Linked DNA regions of Homo sapiens: all the other regions are linked to region 3. Evidence: promoter capture Hi-C in 16 types of primary human blood cells and fetal thymus (Javierre and others, 2016). All regions are on one chromosome and are shown on one strand. The core of a region is centred on a gene start or on the middle of the fragment in contact, and the rest is flanking DNA. Distances in the headings are between cores, read along the strand shown. Region 1 holds the start of ARHGEF18-AS1 (ARHGEF18 antisense RNA 1). Region 2 holds the start of XAB2 (XPA binding protein 2). Region 3 holds the start of PSPN (persephin).

Evidence for each region. The method cuts DNA at HindIII sites, captures the fragments that hold promoters and counts their contacts. A CHiCAGO score of 5 or more calls a contact.
Region 1: the fragment with the promoter of ARHGEF18-AS1 here is called in contact with the fragment with the promoter of PSPN in region 3 in 2 of 17 cell types (fetal thymus and total CD4 T cells); the score reaches 9.3 in fetal thymus.
Region 2: the fragment with the promoter of XAB2 here is called in contact with the fragment with the promoter of PSPN in region 3 in 1 of 17 cell types (non-activated CD4 T cells); the score reaches 5.3 in non-activated CD4 T cells.

Annotation. Positions count from the first base shown.
Region 1 is chr19:7,392,989-7,396,401 of GRCh38, forward strand. It overlaps ARHGEF18-AS1 (ARHGEF18 antisense RNA 1), which reads right to left and starts at 2,071. Exons shown (of 2, transcript NR_186326.1): 1 at 2,005-2,071. All of the region lies in intron 10 of ARHGEF18 (Rho/Rac guanine nucleotide exchange factor 18), which reads left to right. RefSeq lists silencers at 1,830-2,270, 1,979-2,548 and an enhancer at 2,759-2,938. The HindIII fragment of the contact is 12,223 bases long and covers 1-2,811 here.
Region 2 is chr19:7,627,734-7,630,794 of GRCh38, forward strand. XAB2 (XPA binding protein 2) reads right to left here and starts at 1,812. Exons shown (of 19, transcript NM_020196.3): 1 at 1,744-1,812; 2 at 417-565; 3 at 1-118. The coding sequence starts at 1,794. PET100 (PET100 cytochrome c oxidase chaperone) reads left to right here and starts at 2,060. Exons shown (of 4, transcript NM_001171155.2): 1 at 2,060-2,127; 2 at 2,840-2,926. The coding sequence starts at 2,101. It also overlaps a transcript of STXBP2 not described here. RefSeq lists enhancers at 1,724-1,843, 2,104-2,153. The HindIII fragment of the contact is 14,766 bases long and covers 1-3,061 here.
Region 3 is chr19:6,374,504-6,377,889 of GRCh38, forward strand. PSPN (persephin) reads right to left here and starts at 1,430. Exons shown (of 2, transcript NM_004158.5): 1 at 1,199-1,430; 2 at 645-1,113. The coding sequence starts at 1,346. The coding sequence ends at 791. It overlaps ALKBH7 (alkB homolog 7), which reads left to right. Exons shown (of 4, transcript NM_032306.4): 3 at 1-86; 4 at 308-747. The coding sequence ends at 470. The HindIII fragment of the contact is 10,611 bases long and covers 1-3,386 here.

The sequences.
Region 1 (3,413 bases), core at 821-3,320, 1.0 Mb after region 3:
ATGAGCTATGATTGTGCCACTGCACTTCCAGCCTAAGTGACAGAGTGAGATCCTGTCTCAAAAAAAAAAAAAAAAAAAAAAAAAGGAAAAAAAATAAGGTTCATGCCCCTAAGTCCATAAGCCACAGCTACACAGCTGCCCAACCATTGAGCCCTCATAAACTCCCGTGTTAGAGTTTCTGACCTCAGCTGCAGTAGGGTGCCTGGTGAATTACGTCTTGCATTTCTGGGACATCCAATTCCCTGAACATGCTCCCTTCCTCTGGACCATGAAGGTTGGACTTGAACTGAAGGCTAGTCCACCTGGGGACGCAACCCTCCAGCTTCTGAACTGGGGACTCTCAACAACATATTGTGCATGTTTTGAAGTGATTGGGTTTGGGGAAATCTTTTTTTCTAAAATAGAGACTGGGTCATGCGAGGTTTCCCAGGCTGATCTCAAAGCTCCTGGACTCAAGTGATCCTCCCTCCTCAGACTCCCAAAGTGTTAGGATTACAGGCATGAGCCGTCTTGCCTGGCCATGGGGAGATCTTCTAGGCCTGGCTGACCAGCCAACCTTGGTGAGAGCTGTTCTGCTCGACTCCTGGTTACTGTTCAACTGCCTCCCCTGTGGCAGGACTTGGATTAGACAGGCAACCTCAAGACTGGGGTGTCTGATGGCAATTGAGAGGTTGCTGGTGCTGGGGGAAGCATCTGGCCTATCCACATCTGCCAAATAGCACCTGTGTGGAAGTGGATAGGGGAGGGTATGGTATGTGTTTCAGACTCTGAGCACCTGTTTGAGGGTATCTGACAGCATCTGTATTGGGGTTATCTAGTATGTGTTTGGGGGTATCTGCTGGACCTATGTGGAGTGTCTGACATATTTGGGGGTTACCTGGAAGCCTGTTTTGGGTATCTGATGGCACCTGCCTGGGTGCCTGTGTTTAGGGGATCTGATGGTATCTATGTTGGGGTGTCTGAGACCACTGGAGAGGTATATGATTCATTTTTCCCAGACCCACCTTTCTGAAGTCTATGCTGCCTCTTTTTTTGTTGTTGTTATTTTGAGACAGAGTCTTGCTCTGTTGTCCAGGCTGGAGTGCAGTGGCATGATTATAGCTCACTGCAGCCTGGACCTCCCAGGCTCAAGTCATCCTCCCACCTCAGCCTCTGGAGGCATGATCATAGCTCACCGCAGCCTGGACCTCCCAGGCTCAAGTCATCCTCCCACCTCAGCCTCTGGAGGAGTTGGGACCACAGGCAGGCGCCTCCATGCCCTGCTCATTTTAAAAAATGTTTTGTAGAGATGGGGTCTTGCTATGTTGCCCAGACTGGTGGTCCTGAACTCCTGGGATGAAGTGATCCCCCCACCACTCCCTGATGCTGCTTCTTTTTTCTCAGGTGACAGACCCTGCCCTCTCCATTTCTTGGACTCTCCCCGCTAGGACTCCCCACCACTGGGAGTGCCCCCCTTAGGTACTTCCAATCCTAACGAGCCCGTAGGAGCCCACTGACAACCCCTCCAGGCATCCGTTGATTCTTCCAAAACACCCCCAGCTCCACTGTCCTCCCTTGGGGTCCCCTTAACCCCGCTATCCTCCCTCGGGGTCCCCCAACTCCGCTGTCCTCCCTCGGGGTCCCCCCAACCCCGCTGTCCTCCCTTGGGGTCCCCCAACCCCGCTGTCCTCCCTCAGGGTCCCCCTAACTGTGCTGTACCCCCCTTGAGATTCTCCAAACCGCTGTCCTCCTCAGGACTCCCTCCCCAGCCGCGCTAATCACCCAGGCTTCCGTTAACCCCACAAAACGCCCACCTAACCCTGCTGCTCTCCCTCTGGATCCCCGCAACCCAGCTGTCCCCTCAGAGCCCCCGGCCCTACTGACAGCCAGGCTCGCATTGCTCTCCTTCAAAAAGCCCCCCAACCCCGCTGACCCGCCCCTCAAAAGTCGCCCTCACCCTCGCCGCGAGCACCCTCCCACTTCGGTGCCCGCGCCCCTCTCAAGGCCGAGCCGACGCCCCCTCACCACGGCTCGGGGAGCAGCAGCCCCAGGTCCCCGGGAGCGCCCCGCCCTCGAGGGCACGCCTCCTTCCGGGTCACGCCCTCTGCCCCGCCTCCGAGGCGGGATCGCGCATGCGCTGCTCTCCTCGCGCGGCTTCCCGCTTCCGGCTCCCAGCTGCTAGCTACTGTGGATCTGGGGGGGCCGGACGGAGGCATCGGAGGCGGCTGCGAGAGTGGCAGAGGAGCTGGCGGAGAGCGGCCTGCGGGCGATCGGGCCGAGGTGAGGACGGCGGCGGGGCGGTCCCGAGGAAAACGGGGCTCAGGAGGGGGCCCTCGGTCTCTTCAGGGGGTGGCCTGGGGCGCGGGACCCCCGGGGCTGCCTCGGGCCTCCCGCCGGCTCCTGGGGGACTTCTCCAGGCAGGCGAACGGGTGCTGGGGTGCAGGCTGCTCCTTCAATGCATGGAGGCTCTAGGCGGCGATTGCAGGGTGCAGAGGTGCAGACGATGCCCGCCCGCTCCGTCCGAGCCCCAGCCAGTCCTGGGGTGCTACGGCTTACTCTCCTCCAGGAGAGGAGAGGAGGGGTCACTTGGGCCCCAGCCTCTGCTCCTCGTTCAGGAGCGCCCGGGGCAGGACCAGGGATGGAATGGAACCCACCACAATACCCAGCACCGTCGTATTTCAGGCCTCCCGGGAGAACCCTCACACCCCGGAGCAGACAGCCCTCCCTGGCAGGGAGCGTTTGGGTGCAAAACCGTGAGAACTATCTGTGCCATGGGTTTTAGTTTCTTGTATAAGAACTCAGTTGGTGCTTTCATTGCGGACGGGAACGAGAAGCTTTCCCCTGGTCCTTACATGTTTCGTTTTGTTTTACGTTTTTAAATTTCAACTTTTATTTGAGATTGAGGGGGTACATGTACAGGTTTGTTACCTGGATATATTGCGTGATGCTGAGGTTTGGGGTGTGACTGATCTCGTCACCCAGGTACTGAGCATAGTACTCAATAGATAGTTTCAACCCTTGACCTCCTCCTTCCCTTCCCGCTCTAGTAGAGCCCAGTTTCTGTTGTCTTCTTGGTGTCCATGAGTACCCAAGGTTTAGCTCCACTTACAAGTGGGAAAGTGCAGTATTTGGTTTTCTTTTCCTGCGTTAATTCTACTAGCACTTGAGTGTTTTGCTGTGGCTATCTGCCCCTTATCTCTTGCTCTGTTGAGATTAAAGCCTGGACCACAGGATTAAAAAACATTCTTAAAGTTTTACCACGGAAGCGAAGCGGCCAACACACCTTTTCCCCTTTGCCTTGTTTTCGCGGAGATGAAGCTCCAGCCAGTAGCTTTGAAGGGCCCCATTCTCTTCCCATTGACCAGAGAGAGAGTTCAGGACAGTATAGACAGCCCAGTGGCCAAGGGATGAGTTTTGCAGGTGTCTGAGTGAAT
Region 2 (3,061 bases), core at 562-3,061, 1.3 Mb after region 3:
CATGAACACAAAGGCCCTCTCATGACAGTTGTTGACATCTTCATAGGCAGGGTCGGTCACACAGCGATGCTTCACCTGTGCCCGACGCGCCTTCAGGTATCGGTACCAGAGTTTGTAGCTGGGGAATAGGAGGGGACAGATGCTGATCGGTCAGCTTTATGGACACCCCCAGAACCATTTGCCCTGCCCCAGTTGGCAAATGTGGGAAGAAGGGGTGTGGGAGGGGTGACATGTCTCAGCAATGACAGGGACAGACTGGGACATCAGAGAAGGTGTGCTGACCCATCAAGGGATGTACAGGTCAGTGATGAAACACGAAGCAATCACCCGGGACCCGGGACCCACTTGGCAGTTTTGTTATAACTGGACCAGGTGGGGTGGGGGCTGGTGGGCAGGGCAGCTGGAGCCATTCCCACCTGCAGGGCAGCAGCTTGAGTGCCCGCTCGTATAGCTGATTGAGCCTGGGCTTCGGGGCGCCCTGTTTGAACTCGATGTAGCGAAGCCAGCATTTGACAGAGAATTGGTTCCGCATGATTTCCTCCTCATAGGGGAGGTCCTCTTCCTCCTGCCAGGGCCAGGGAATGGGAAGAAGAGAGGCCTACCCTCAGAGCCTGTGTGCAGCACCATCCCACTGCTGGGGCTCAGGTCCAAACTCCGGACTTTTACCTAGATCCCACCACCCACCAAGGAAGTCAGGTCACCAGATGCCCAGGCACCAAACCAGATGCCCGACACCAAGACAGTGGCCCAGACCTTTACCCCTCAGAATTCAACTACCCAAAATCGAACCCAAATCATCAGACTTCTCAGTCATTAGGGCTCTGGGCCAGGAATGAGTCCGCATCACCACTCGCTTTCTGCCCCAGATGGTCAGACTCCTTAGATACCAAGGCCCTGGCCCAGATGCCAGTCCTGGACACCAGACCCCACTTCTTCAAAACGTGCCTCTTCCCAGACACCAGGCCTTTGGCCCCTCAGACTCCCACTGTCACCATCTGACCCATCTCCACCCCAGGCCCAGATGACCAGATCTTTACCCCAGCCACCAGGGCTCTCAGGTCCAGATTCCAAGCCACTAGCCCCGCCCCCAGGATCCCACTAGCCAGCGTCTAGCTCAACTCTGCCCCAGAAATTAAAAGCTAGGCCTTTATCTCACAGGAGGAGTTATACACCAGAAGCCAAGCCTTTAACTCTGCACACCAAGAATCTGGTGAAGATGTCACGCCTCTACTCCAGAGAGTAAGTATTTCACTGGCCATCGCCTGACAAGCTCCACATCACCAGGGTTCTTCTAGCCTGGCCACCACCCCAGAAACTGTCATGCTGCAGTCCAGGCCTAGAGACCGCTATCCAGAAAACCAAGCCTTCATCCCAGAAACCAGAACCCTGGCCTCGTAAGCAAGCCTTTACTTCAGACACCGATCTTCACCTCTCAAGGTTCAGTTATGCGATCTTCCTCCTCTCCCATTCCCTGCACGCCCCCATTTCCGCCCCTGGTTCGGGAGGCTAGACGCTTCCCTTCGACAGTGGTTTTCTACTCAGACCCGAAGATACAACACCATATTTTTACTCCTGGACAGTTCGGTGCGGACATGACGATCCGGTCTCTGGCCCATTAGGGTTCCCAGACCTTGGCCTGGCAGTTTCGGCCTAAATCTCCTTGCCGACCCAGCCTCGATCCCCTGCGGCGTCCAGGTCCCAATGCCCCAACGCAGGCCACCCCCGGCTCCTCTGTGGACTCACGAAGACAAGGTCCGGCCGCTCGGGCCGCGAGAGTCGCGCCATCACCACCATTTTTCTGGATGCCCAGGTACAGGAGAGAGTCGCGCGCTTATGACGTCTACCACTGACGGCCCGCCCCTCCGAGCCAGACCCGTTTTCTATTGGTTAAATCATTTTTGACGGACAGGCCCACGTTATTGACTTCTTTTCGACGACGCCAGCGACCGGAAGCAGAATAGAGGCGCCAGAAGATGCGCCATCAGGATACACATTGGCCAATCAGCTTCAGCAATGGAGCGTGCAAAACACCAGTGAGCTTCTGTCTTGCTGGAGGGTCGGCTTTGGGCGGAACTGGCTTTGTTGACCGGGAGAAACGAGATGGGGGTGAAGCTGGAGATATTTCGGGTCAGTGGACACAGGAGTGGGTTGGGAGGCTGGGCAGGGGATCTTCCTGGATCTGAAGATGAGGTTGGAAATGGGGGGACTTCAAAGGAAGAGGGAGCTCCAAGGAGAAAGCTCTTAAGATTTGAGAGGAACCTTTCTGGTTGGAAATCCAGGAGAGGGGACGCTGGGCTGGGGGGGTTCTCGGATTTGGGCTTCTGGGTTTGGGGGCTGTGAGAGGGCTGGTCCGAGGAAGGACCTCAGAGAGGGGTGAGCTGAGAAGGGGGCTCTAAAGAAGGAAGACTTAAGATCCTGGGGGAGCTCTCGGGCTCGTGGTGGGTGGGTGTCTATGACAGGGAGATTCCTAGACTTCGAGAAGTGGAGTTGAAGAGTGACGCCTCCTGGGTTTGGGGGTGCTCCCGGGATCTTAAGTGGGGATGGGTAATGAGGTCTCGAGGAGATGCTTTTGATTGTAGCTGGGGCGTCTGTGTGTCTGTCTGTGTTTGAGAGGAAGACTCCAGCTCAGAGGGAACTTTCAGGAATGAGGCCTCCTGGATTATAGGAGTTAGGTTTTAGGGTGCGAGGTTTCTGTACCCTTGGTGGGAGTTCTGGGATTCTTGGGTCGGCCGTAACGAGGCGCTTCTGGACTCTGCAGTAGGATGGGTCCCCCAGGCTCTGAGGAGCCTCTGCACATTGCTTGGGGGGAGCTCACCTCACCCACCCTCTGCCATTCCAGATGATAATCTACCTCACTTTCCCTGTGGCTATGTTCTGGGTTTCCAATCAGGCCGAGTGGTTTGAGGACGATGTCATACAGCGCAAGGTGGGCATAAGAGGAGTGTTTGAGGGTTCATTCCAGGGGTGGGAGAGGGTGTGGGGCAGCAGTCTGCTGGGGACTAATGTCTGCCTCCCATAAGCCGACCCTGCCCTGATGTGGGGCTCTGGAGGCCTTTGGCTC
Region 3 (3,386 bases), core at 180-2,679:
CCCAGCGTTATGCGGCTGGTGCACACCCAGGAGCCGGGGGAGTGGCTGGAACTCTTGCTGGAGCCGGGCTCCCTCTACATCCTTAGGTACCTCCATCCAGGCAGCACCCACCCCTCCAAGAATGTGCCATCCGCCCACCCTGTGCCCTGGGTACTTTCCCTCAATCCAGCCCTCCCCGAAGACGCCTTTACCCCAGGGTCTGTGTGGGAGGCAGCAGGGGGCTGGAATCCAGGAGGCTGGAATCCAGGTCTGCCTGGAGCAGGGGCTGCCCTCCTTGCACCCAGTCACAGCCTGTTTCTTCCTGCAGGGGCTCAGCCCGTTATGACTTCTCCCATGAGATCCTTCGGGATGAAGAGTCCTTCTTTGGGGAACGCCGGATTCCCCGGGGCCGGCGCATCTCCGTGATCTGCCGCTCCCTCCCTGAGGGCATGGGGCCAGGGGAGTCTGGACAGCCGCCCCCAGCCTGCTGACCCCCAGCTTTCTACAGACACCAGATTTGTGAATAAAGTTGGGGAATGGACAGCCTAACTGGGACATTGCAGTGGCTGCTTGCTGGGGCCGGGATTTGCAGGGGAACCCAGGATGGCACTGGCCCATAGGGAGCTCCAGGTGTGGCTGGCTGGACACATGGTCAAAGTCACAAGGCCGGGAGAGTGGTGTCCTTTATTGCACTCACTGCTGGTCGCCCCAGCCCACTCCCCTCCTCGTTGTCTCTGCATCCAGGTCTCCAATAAATAAGTCAGCCGAGCTCCCCCAGCACTGCAGCTTCTGGGTGCCAGGCCGGGCACCCTCAGCCACCACAGCCGCAGGCAGCCGCCGAGAGCTGGGGCAGCCGCTGCCAGCGGTGGCGGTCATCGAGGAAGGCCACGTCGGTGTAGCGAGTGGGCCGGCAGCAGGGCCCGCCGTGGGCTCGGCCCTGGCCCTGCAGCCGGGCCAGCGCCAGGCCATGCTGGGTGCGGGCACCACGGGGGCAGCTGCCGGCGCAGTAGCGGAAGATGACCTTCTCCTCTGAGGCGTAGCCCAGGCCTAGCTCTGCCACGGACAGGGTCAGGCTCCACAGCTGGCATGGACCAGACAGGGCTCGGCGCAGGCGGGCAAGGGGGCGGTGGGTGCCTGTGGGAGGGAAGGGCGCTGACAGTGAGCAGGGTCAGGGCTGGGGAAAGTTGGGAAGTCACAGAGGGTCCCTGGAAGTCCTTACCCAGCCAGGTCCCTCCAGCCTTTGCCACCTGTTCAGACGAGAACTCTCCATCGGCCACGGGAACCCCACGGGCATCGGGGCCCCAGCCCTGTCCCAGCTGCAGGGACAGGAGCAGCAGGGAGCCCAGCAGGAACTTCCCTACGGCCATTGTGACGGGCAGGTCCTGAGAGTGGGAGCTGTGCCCCAAATTTATGCCCTGCCTGGGCTGGGAGCTAACCTCTTCACTGCCGGCCCCTGCAGCCAGGAGGCCCCACGTCTGCACCAGCCCATCTCCTGCACCCTCGAATCCAGGCATCTGCTCCTTCTGCCCCACACCCCACCCTTCTAAGAGTTAAGGGCTCACCCCCAGCCTACCCCACCCCGACATTCCACACAGCCATTTCCGACGCCCCAGACACCCCCTGATTTACGAGTGCTGTGCTGGCGGCCAGGGCAGGCAACTGGTGTTCCCCCGACCTGCTGCCTGGAGTGGAAGTCAGGGGGCTTCATGGGACCCCGGTGGGGTCCCTCCCCACTAAGTCAGGGTGCTGGGGCTCAGGAGCCCCCACGTGTATCATGTGCCAGGTGGAGCATATGTGAGTGCTGGGAAAGGTGGCTTGGCAGGGGACTGAGTCCACGGGAACCCTCCATGGTGGCTCCCGCCTGGAGGATTAGGACATCATGCCCCTGTCTCCGGGCCTGGCTGAGCCAGCATCAAAACAGGAAAAGGGAGAGGCCTGGGGACAGCCAAGGGTGGGGACACAAGGGGACAGGGACGCCTGTCTCGGGAAGGCCAACCTGAGACCCCTATAACTGCAGCCCCATCCTGGGATCTGAGCATGTCAGAGCCCCCGGGGCGATGGAGGCTGTCCAGGTCATGGTAACGTCTAGCACGATGCAGACAGATAAGGGCTCTCGAGGCTTCCATACCCAGCCCCGTGTGAGCCCAGTCCCCTCACCGGTACAGGGGAGCTCCTCAGAACCCCTCCTACTCGGCTTGGTGAGGAAAGAGATGGGCACTTAGAGTGTAAGGCAGTGCCCGTAGCTTCGAATGCAAAAACAAGCAAACAGCTTGTGATTGTCCGAAGGGGTGCTTGACTCTAAGCACCCACAAGATTGGGGAAAATCAGAAAACCCTCACACACAACCCGTGTGACCCAGGTGCACCCTGTGCTGTTGGTGGGGGTGTAAATTGCTAGCAGCTCTTTGGATGAGCAGCTGCTACTGGGGAATTGTAAATTACACCCTCTGCCCCAGGAGCCCTGTTTGCGGGGTTCCTCCCACACAGGCAAGTGAAACAGCCAGCACAGGGACATCTGATGCCTTCTTCATATTAGGAAAGTCTGGAAGTGGCCTCAACTCCATCCGTGAGGGATTGCTTCGATGATTATGTTGTGGTTTTTCTTACTGAAGTGCTTATTGAGATGATAATTTTCCGATGGAAAGAAAAGCCTGGGCTTGGCGTGGTGGCTCATGCCTCGGGAGGCTGAGGCGGGTGGATTACCTGAGGTCAGGAGTTTGAGACCAGCTTGACCAACATGGTGAAATCCATCTCTATTAAAAATACAAAAATTAGCTGGGCATGGTGGTGGGCGCCTGTAATCCCAGCTACTCGGGAGGCTGAGGCAGGAGAATTGCTTGAACCTGAGAGGTGGAGGTTGCAGTGAGCTGAGATTGTGCCATTGCACTCAAACCTGGGCGACAGAGCGATACTGTCTCAAAAAAGCCTGGCGGGGCCCAGTGGCTCATGCCTATAATCCCAGCACTTTGGGAGGGTGAGGTGGGAGGATCACTTGAGGTCGGGAGTTTGAGACCAGCCAGGCCAACATGGTGAATCCCTGTCTCTAACGAAAATACAAAAATTAGGCGAGGCACAGTGGCTCACGCCTGTAATCCCAGCACTTTGGGAGGCCGAGGTGGGCAGATCACCTGAGGTCAGTTCAAGACCAGCCTGGTCAACATGGTGAAACTCCGTCTCTATTAAAAAATTAGCTGGGTGTAGTCCCAGCTACTCGGGAGGCTGAGGCAGGAGAATCGCTTGGAACCCAGGAGGCAGAGGCTGCAGTGAGCCAAGATTGCACCACTGCACTCCAGCCTGGGCAGCAGCATGAAACTCCGTCTCAGAAACCCAAAAAACAAATTAGCTGGACCGTGGTGGGGCGTGCCTGTCATCCCAGCTACTCAGGAGACTGAGGTAGAATTGCTTGAA